Linked DNA regions of Homo sapiens: region 2 is linked to region 1. The links are contacts of gene promoters, found by promoter capture Hi-C in blood cells and fetal thymus (Javierre and others, 2016). All regions are on one chromosome and are shown on one strand. Each heading gives the region's core, a stretch centred on a gene start or on the middle of the fragment in contact. The rest is flanking DNA. Distances are from core to core; before and after follow the strand shown. Region 1 holds the start of EGFLAM-AS2 (EGFLAM antisense RNA 2). Region 2 overlaps OSMR (oncostatin M receptor).

What was found. The method cuts DNA at HindIII sites, captures the fragments that hold promoters and counts their contacts. A CHiCAGO score of 5 or more calls a contact.
Region 2: a fragment that was not itself captured here is called in contact with the fragment with the promoter of EGFLAM-AS2 in region 1 in 4 of 17 cell types (M1 macrophages, M0 macrophages, M2 macrophages and 1 more); the score reaches 7.5 in M1 macrophages.

What each region holds. Positions count from the first base shown.
Region 1 is chr5:38,401,423-38,406,519 of GRCh38, forward strand. EGFLAM-AS2 (EGFLAM antisense RNA 2) reads right to left here and starts at 2,049. Exons shown (of 3, transcript NR_102750.1): 1 at 1,977-2,049; 2 at 402-659. It overlaps EGFLAM (EGF like, fibronectin type III and laminin G domains), which reads left to right. Exons shown (of 22, transcript NM_152403.4): 7 at 4,704-4,819. The HindIII fragment of the contact is 8,755 bases long and covers 1-5,097 here.
Region 2 is chr5:38,918,078-38,922,798 of GRCh38, forward strand. It overlaps OSMR (oncostatin M receptor), which reads left to right. Exons shown (of 18, transcript NM_003999.3): 11 at 763-985; 12 at 3,538-3,717. Among named protein-coding and RNA genes, the nearest start is that of OSMR, 74 kb to the left of the region's middle. The HindIII fragment of the contact is 3,828 bases long and covers 1-3,726 here.

The DNA.
Region 1 (5,097 bases), core at 799-3,298:
TCTTGATTTTAAGTCAATTCTTTTCTGTGGCCTCGGTTTCCATGCTTGTGAAATGACAAGATTGGGCTGGATGGTGTTTAGATCTCTTTCCATTCTTACTTCTAGCTTCATTTGGGGGAAAAGGACAGGATTGGTGGCAGTTTTCGGGGTCTTTGGATTGGGAGGCAGAGTCCCACCATGTTGAGCAAGGGCAGGACATAGTTCAGCACTGTGGGAGTGTCTCCTGTCACTCCTCTCAAAGGTGTTGACCTTTGTTGAGTACATGAAGTGTTAGTGACATGGAGGAAGGGAAAGGATATGAAGAAATCTAAAATATGGTTTCTGCCCTCAAAGGATTTACAATCGAGTTGGTAAACACAAGGGCAAGAGTCTAAGGCCAGGAGCCCAGAAGATCTACATACCATCTTACACGTGTGTTGACTTTATCAAGCAATGGGCATTTATGCTGATTGGAGGCATATATCCATGGCTGGGTTGCCCCATCCAGGAGAAGATGAAGGAATGTCCTACAAGTCTTGGTGGCTTCTTACTTTGTGGAGTCACCATTTTTCCCAGAAGAGTCTGTTTTCTTTTTAAAATGTCGCTTGATTTTGGTCTTCTGATGGCACACATTCAGCTCTGTCTCCATAGAATGCATGCCCTCTGGGAGAATAGGTAGGCTGTGTGTAAGGAGATAGGAGTGGGAAAAAGATGACAATGGGAAAAAGCATTAACCAAAATCCTAGGGTAAGAAAATACAAGATGCATTCAGGAGACAACTGGCAGGCCAGTTTGGCTATTATATAGCTTTTAAAGAGTATTTTTTAAAAAACAACAAAAACCTGAAAACATAATTAGGATTCAGATTAAGTAGCATGATGTAGTCAAAAGAGAGACCAAGGATAAAATCTAGCCCTGCCATTCCCCATCTGTCTGCCTTGAGCAAGTTATTTAATCTCTCTGTGTCTATATCTCCACTTGGTAAAATGGAAGTAATAACACCAATTTTATAGTATTTTGTGAGGATTAACTTAAGCGATGTATGAAAAGCTCCTGGCACACTAAGAATGATCAACATATGGTAATTTTCTCAAATTCTAGGATCTTTCTACCTCCACAGTGGCTTCTTCTGCAATAGGCGATTAGGAGAGCAGTCACCAGACAGACCTTGGATTTGAGTTTAGCTCAGCCAGTTATAAAGTCTTCAATTTTAGGTAAATTACTTAACTACTCTTAACTCAGTTTTCTTATGTATAAAATGGATTAGTCATACTTACCTTGTAAGATTATTGAAAAGTTTAGAAATATATCATGTTAAGCACCCAATAGTACCTGATAAGAAGAGGAGATGGAGTAGAATTCAATAAATCATGGTGATGGGGGAAGAAGGAGGAAAAAAGGAGCTGTTTTAATTGAGAACCTTGAATTCTTGACCAAGAAGCCTAGAATTTATGTTGTAGGCAGTGGAGAGTCACTGAAGGTGATTTTTCAGATAGGAAATCATAGGATAAAGATGAAGAGAATCTTAACCTTGTTGAGAATGTGTTAATAAGGTGCACAGGGCAAGGAAGAACAGCCTGGAAGGAGAGAGACCAAACTACTGAAGACAAAAGCCAGCTTGCTTTATGTATGTGCTGTATAATTCTTTTACTACCAAATGGATTTCTTCTTCTGGAATCTAACAATTCTGAATATGTGAGAGAGGCAGAGATAGAAATGAAGAGTGAGGGAAAGGACAGAGGGGAGAAAGAGAAAGAGAGAGAGGGGCCGAGAGAGATAGATACAGTAGTTCCCTCTCCGCAGGGGATGTGTTCCAAGATTCCCAGTGGATACCTGAAACTGCAGATAATACTGAACCCTATATATGCAGCAGAACTAGCATAAATTTCATTTTCCTTCTTCACAGTTTCACAGATAGAAGATTCATTCTTGCCATAGATCTTAGCAACCTCAGCATATGATTTTTTTCTTTCCTTAATTCAGTTGAGAACTTTCACCTTTTAATTTAAAAGATGCACTTCATGGCTTCTCTTTGGCATATCTGAATCCCAGAATCACTGCTCTTGCACTGTGGGGCCATTATGAAGTCAGATAATGGTTACTGGAACATAAGCACTTCGATACCATGACAGTGAATCTGACAACTGAGACGGCTGCAGACCATGGGGCAGGGAGCATATGGAGCACGGATATGCCAGACAGAGGGATGATTCATATCCCAGGCAGGATGGAGCAGGGCAGTGTGCTATTTCATCGTGCTACTCAGAACTTATGAATTGTTTATTTCTGGAATTTCCCATTTAATATTTTTGGACTGTGGTTGATCGAGGGTAAATGAAATTGCAGAAAGCAAAAATACAGATAAGGGGGACTGCTTGCTGTACAAAGATAGAGACAAGAGGAAGGAGCTGTCCTCAAGGGCCTTTTGTGTGAAGACATCTGGCACACAGATACGCTGCATGCAGGTGGCTTGAGAGAACATGCATCCAGGTATAAATCTGGCATCGACAGGTTGAATTTTCAGTTGACAGGTGGACTACTTTAAATAAAACTGGGGAATTGGTGTGGAAGGGATGAGAACACCGCCTCCCCTTTGTTATCCCACCTCCACCAAGAAGTGCCCGAACCCCTGAGAACAGCTCACTCCACCCTGTCTCTGGGTCATCTGCATCATCTGCTGACTGCACTTCTCTCGTCTGGTCTGGGAGGAGATTGATTTCTGGTCAACAGCACGCCCCCTGACAAAAATGACTTTCTGCCATTTCCTTCCACTCCATTTTCAATCTGATTGCTATTCTGTTTGGAGGAGTGCTATGGTCGGAATGTTTATGTCTCCCTCAAATTCATATGTTGAAATCCTAACCCCCAAGGAGGGGCCTTTGGGAGGTACTTAGATCATAAGGGTGGAGTCCTTGTGAATGGGATCAGTGCCCTTATTAAAGAGGCCCAAAGGGGCTGGTTTGCCCTTTCCACCATGTGAAGATGCAGTGAGAAGGCACCATCTGTGCCCTCATCAGATACTGCCAGCCCTTTGATCTGGGACTTCACAGCCTGCAGAACTGTGAAAAATAAATGTTTGTGGTTTACAAGCCATCAGTTTATGGTACTTTTGTTGTAGCAGCCTGGACAGACAATGTAGGAGGGTGAGTTTGTCTTCCTGAGAATGGTGCATGACTTAGCTTATTCTGAAAGCAAAATGTCTTTAAGTTTAGTTTATGTTTTTTATGCTTTTTATGTTATTTTTCCTTTTTCTTTTCCACTAGGCATCCAAACACTGGATGTCTAATAACTAATGAGTGGCAGCATCCTACCAAAGCCAGTTTCTGTTGCCAAAGTTGTTACTGCCCTAAAGGCTGGTGCCTGGCTTTTTCAGTTGAGAGAGGGCAGCAAGTTAATACCTGTGCTGGCCCAAATCCACTGTGAGGACATGCAGGTGCCCTGGAGCCGCTCTTTAAAAGGCTGCCACCTCCTGGTGGAGTGTTTCCCATGTGCAACCTAAATCAGAGCGCTGTGGATCAGTGGATTCTGCGGATGACAGTTGAATAAAAATGCCAACTGAATGTTCCCCAAAAGATGATGCTCTGTATTGACGTCTGAGAGGTTTTCTCACCCACCTTTCAGTTCTGAAAGATTTAGTTGTCCTGCTAAGATGGATGAAATGGATGACCCCCAAGATACCTTATAGGGCCCCCTTTTTTTGGTTGTGGGAGTGTTTACTATAATCTCCCTTTTTTGTTTTAAAGACCTTTTAGTGAAATACTTTGTACTTCAAAAGTATATATATGTATATATACAACATATAAAAAATATGAATATTTACAGGTACCCAGCACTTACCTTAAGAAACAGAATATGATGGAATACTCTCAAAGGCCCCTGTGAATCACACCTCATTCACATCCCTTTTCTATCTTCCCTTGGGTATTTATGTGTTTGTCCTGCTTTTTTAAAGAGTTTAAATTACATATATATGTATCCCTAAGTAATATATTGTTTTGTTTGCTGTTGTCTTTTATATTAATGTCATCAAACTAGATGCATTCTTTTGCAACTTGCATTTTTTTTGTATGAAGTCATGTGAGATTAAGCCATGTTGATATATTAAATGATGATTCATTCCTTTCCCCTACTATATGGTACTCCATTCTATAGATATACTATAAATAATTTAGTCATTCTTTGTTGATGGACATTTGGGATGTTGTTTGTTCTTATAAATAGCATATTTGGAGTATTTTTTACTATTACAAATTCTGATGCTATGAACCTGTTTTGAACACGCCTTTTGGTACACAGGTACAGGAGTTTCTCCAGCTTTTGTAAGTTGGGATGGGATTGCTAGGTATGAACAAACATCTACTTTATGAAATATTTCCAAGTATTTCACAAAGTGACTGGACCAGTTTATACAAGTACCATATGAGTCCTCATTGATCCCGTCCTTAGTAATATTTTTATTATCTGATTGACATTTTTGCCAGTCTTGTCAGTATAAAATGGAAGCTCTTTCTGGTTTCAGTTGGAAATTCCTTAGTAACTTATGAGAGGAAACTTTTTTTATATCTTTTGGTCATTGACGCTTCCTTTTCTGTGTTGAATTCATTGTTATGTTTCCAATACACTGCGTTCCATTCGGTACAGCTCTGCCTGTGGCTGAGTTAGGCTAGACAATAGTGCAAAGAAGGCCTGTGCTGATGAAGGGTGTGCTGCTTTTCTTTGTGAAGGCCCTGAGGAGGCGGGAAGTGGCCGCTATGGACCCCGTTATATCACCGACATGGGAGCTGGTGAGGATGATGAAGGATTTGAAGACGACTTAGATTTGGATATTTCCTTTGAGGAGGTAACAATAATCTCTGCTCTTAAAACCCAGGGTGTTTGTGTTTTCTTGCCGAACAAGACAATTTAGCCAATGGACCATAAACATTTTACTTAAAACTTAAATGTGCCCATTTGCTTTTAACACTGATTTGTTTTGTCTGATGATCAGTCTCCAGGTGCTGATAAATCAGTAGTAGGGAAGTACTAGCCATCCTGATGTTCCATAGGCAGCTCCTGCCTGCGGACTTCACAATCTGGCAAAAACATATTTCTATTTCCCACCAAGGGAAATTTCAGAAA
Region 2 (4,721 bases), core at 563-3,062, 520 kb after region 1:
GCGTCAGTTTCACACTGAAACATGGTGATCCTGGGAGAGTTGGCTCTGGTCTCAACCTACCCCACTTTTTTTTTCACCTTTAGTTTGGCACACTCCGCAAGAATCTCTGTGCACAGACGTGTGGGCATGCCAGTCTGCATGTCTGGGTTCTGTCCACACCCCAAGCAGATAGCCACTCCAAGCCCACTCTCAGGGCTGGTGGTACACATGCCAGGGGAGGGGAGGCCTGAGGAACAGACCCCAGAAGTGGGCTTGGGACTGTGTGGGCAAGAATTTCTCTGCAAACTGAGGATCTTCCAGAGGAGGGCTCTGGGTATGGAGAGCAGCTAATCCCTGTACGGCTGCATAGGGGTAACATGGCTGGAGGTGGAATGAGGCCAGTACCCAGGCTCCTCCTGCAGGGTCCCAGGGTGGTGCTGTTTGTACTCATTGCTTTTCTGCCCTTGACTACCCCTCACATTCTTTTTTCCACCAGGTTAAAGAGTCTATTCCTTGTGATTCTGACCTGAGCACTCTTCTCAGGGCACATAATGCTCTTGAGGCTCTTATCTCCAAATGATCCTCTTCTCTACTCACCTTCAGTTAGATTTGAATGTCTGATTTCAGAGTTGGTTGAGAGAGTTATTTTCTCTATTAAGCTGTTTGAATTTTCTGGTGTGTGCGTATATAAAGGAGTTGAGGGACAGAAAAGATGAAAAAGGAGTTGTACAAATTCCTTTCAATTAAAACCCATTTAAAAATGTTTATCAATATTTTTTTCAGCCATTATCAAAACTGCATGCCAATGGAAAGATCCTGTTCTATAATGTAGTTGTAGAAAACCTAGACAAACCATCCAGTTCAGAGCTCCATTCCATTCCAGCACCAGCCAACAGCACAAAACTAATCCTTGACAGGTGTTCCTACCAAATCTGCGTCATAGCCAACAACAGTGTGGGTGCTTCTCCTGCTTCTGTAATAGTCATCTCTGCAGACCCCGAAAACAGTGAGTTTGTTTTCATTTTCTTTTGTTTTTATTCTCTAGGAAAATGTTGATGACGTTATTAAGTAGTGATGGATAAATTGAGAAAACAATAACTTAGGAAGACAAAATGTCTAGTCACTAAACAGTCATTTTCTTTTGGGCCAGGTGTGTCAACGTGTTTCAGTGGGACAGTCCCCTCAGTGTGGGGAGAAGGAGACTTCAGCCATGGCTCAGGACATTTCTGTCCAGGGGATTCTTCAACATACATGGGAAATTATCTCAAATTTATTCAAGTAACTGCAACCCTAACAAACAGTCACCACTGAGAGTTGGAGTTACTATTTATGATCTTTGTGGCTTGTGAAATAGGAATTGCATTTACTATTTTGTAAAAAGTGTTGTCAGTCTTTGCACCTGGAAAGAGTCCATGAACATTTCCAGAGATCATCAGAACTGGCATCAACTTTCACCACAGACTCTGCCAACTTTGTAGAATAAAAGATAATAACTGGCTAATCTCTTGCCTATGAAAGAGCAAACAAGGTGGAATGCCCTTACATGCCAAATCAATAGTGATATTAATTTCCTTCTTAGCCATAAAAAGAGTCAACCCCACAGTTACATGCTATGAGATGATACATACATGGGCATACATAATGTAGTTGGCAAGTGGCATCCTGGGATCATTCATGAACCTTGCAATAATATTACCCTTCAGTTCCTGCTATTAAAATTTCCAGACCCTTGTAGGTTCTATAATATGTGTTTATTCAAGTTCAGCTTAAATTTGGGTTGAGTTGGATTAGAGGATGTTGTTGTTTTGTTTTATTTTTATGTTTTTAAAAGAACTACCCAGTATATATCACATGAGGAAAAGAAACTATATTGTGCCATAGAAGAAAAACCAACCTAAGTTGGTTTAGGAGTTGTTTAGTGTAACCTCTGCTTTCTGAAGAACTATATTAGAGAAAGAAGTTATATTCTGACTTCATTAGGATCCGAACAGGAAAAGGGGGCATTTCATTCAGCCTCGGGGAGCTGGTACTGGCCTCTTCTGAGGAAGGGAGAGACCAGTTCAAAGCAACACTGCTGAGAGCAATTATGTATTTTGGGGTCTCCTACCACACCCTCCATCCCCGTGCCCTGCCTTCAGATGCCTAGACCTTCTGGTGAGAGGCTCCAGCTAGCTATCCTTAAGTGTTTCTTGTTTCTACATCACCAGCATGTATAAAGTCACTCATGTACTATGAGAAAACCAGTAAGGTTAAGCCAGTTCACACTAGGGTGTAAATGACTGACAAAAAGATTCCCCTACTCTTTGATCTACCTCCATCTCTCAAAACATATTTTCAATTTAAAGAAACAGCTTTCTAAGAGTTTCAACCCTGGGTTTGGAGTTAAATTTTACTAAGTATCAATAAGTCAAGTGAAAAATGTCGGCCTTAATATGTGAGGGGCATTTGTCTGCTTGATGGAGGAAGGCAGGGAAGCCATGTGGATGGGATCTATAAAGCCCTCATGGGCTTTTAGCTTATACCTAGGGCTACACATTCCTTTGGGTGCCCCTAGCTGGATGATATTTTGATGCCCTATAAAAATGAATCAGTGGTTTTCACACCAGTATTCAGTTGTAATTAGGATTGCCAGGTAAAATACAGGATGCCCAGTTAAATGTGAATTACAGACAAACAATAAACCAGTTCTTAGTGTAAGTCTGTGGAAAGAGGAGAAATTCTCATGCCTCAAGGTTAAGGTATATCCCTGTTGGAACTCAGTAGAACTGGTAGTCCCCTGAGGCCATGTTATCCTTTTTCCAATTGTCAGACATCAGGAAACCTACTTTAACATATAAAATATATTGACATGGCAGTATTAGTCATAAACTGTGTGCATATCTTTATATAACCCAACTTTTTATATACCTGAATATTTTCTTCTTTTTTGTCTTCTACTCAATTCCTACCTGTAACACATCTCAGAAGCAGTATTTAGTTCAGGAGCAACTGATGTTACCGTGGGAGAATTAGCCTGCATTAGTTATTCATTCAACAGGTATTTTTTGAAGCAGATCCAGTACCCAATACCAGATTCTAGATTAAGGATCAAAAAATTTTGTGGTAAAGGGGCAGATAGCAAACATTTTTGCAGGTCATATAGTCTCCATTACATATTTTATTATATGCCTTCTTTGTTGGTTTATTTTTATTTTTACAACCCTTAAAATGTCTTAGAACCATTCTTAGCTCAAGGGTCATATGAAAACAACCCTCAGAGGCTGGAATCATCCTCCTGGTGGTAGTTTGCTGACCCCTGTCCTAGGTGCTGAAGTCTGGTTGGGCTTCAGAAGGTCAACATGATGGGCATCTGAAGGGCAGGTGTGAATATTCGCTGGGAAGTAAGAGACAAGAACTCACCCATGAAAACATCCCCCACCCAAGCACCTGTAACTATTGAAGTGGAGGTCTGTTACCTACTAGATACAGTGCATGTATGTATTTACTTTCTACCTTACACACTTAAAACAATTTACAGTTAATTAAATCTGGAGCATTGCTCTATTTGTTTATATACAGAAGAGGTTGAGGAAGAAAGAATTGCAGGCACAGAGGGTGGATTCTCTCTGTCTTGGAAACCCCAACCTGGAGATGTTATAGGCTATGTTGTGGACTGGTGTGACCATACCCAGGATGTGCTCGGTGATTTCCAGTGGAAGAATGTAGGTCCCAATACCACAAGCACAGTCATTAGCACAGGTAAGAAGAAGCTTCCATATCATCGCATTGCTATATTCACCTTGAAGAAAGTTCAAGTGGGATTTCTGGACTACTTCACAGACTTTGACTGTGCTAAGCTAGTAATTTTGAAACGACAAATCCAGCATGGGTGTTAGGAGTTCAGATGTTACAAGAATATGTTCTAAAACTTGACCTTTAAATCTACTTTTGCAGAGAATATCTGCACATGAGGTGGGAACTGATTTTCATAAACTTGTTTCTTTAAATTAGTGCATAGTCTCGAATGGCAGAAGGACATTATTATAACAGTTGTCCAGAGAGCTTTTACAAAAGCAGAGACTTGCATCCATTTGGAAGATGTTTAGGACATATAGTTGATGAGAATCGATCATCAACTTCAGTTTCAATAGAACATGTAGAACTTGTTCTCTTACCTCCCACATTGGATTTGTAATGTGAAGATTGCTAGTTTAGCAGTCAGAGGAGTGCTGGTTTGTGTGGCTTGAGCTGGAGGGGTGGGTGGCGCCATCTACTGGGCTCAGGGAAAGGTGTGGGAAATGTCCCTGTTCAGAGGGTGATCAAGGTTCTGCCAATTTCAGTGGTATGGTGGGTTGTGGAAGGAGATTGCAGAGGTACAGGTGTAATGGGGAAATGAGGAAGTGGAAGCAAAGCTTTCAAGACTATTGGCTTTAATGGGAAGAGGGAAGATAAATAACTGGAGGGGGATTTGGAGCCAAAGAAGGGCTTGGTTTTCTATGTCTGGTCTGATTCTGCACCCAGTTGTATGCACATGGATACAGGCATAGTTGAGAACTCTTGCTTCAAAGAACACTGCAGAGGCCAGTCCCTGCAGGCTTTGCTGGAGACAAGACAGTGGGGCCAGGTGTTTGCAACATGGAGGACTCCAAGGCTTCATGGAAGGAGGGAATATCGTGGGGATGAAATACAAAATTCCTGAAAGCCAATTATTAGGGGAGCACAAATTTATTTTTCATTCTTTTTTGGGGGGTGTGGTGGGGAAC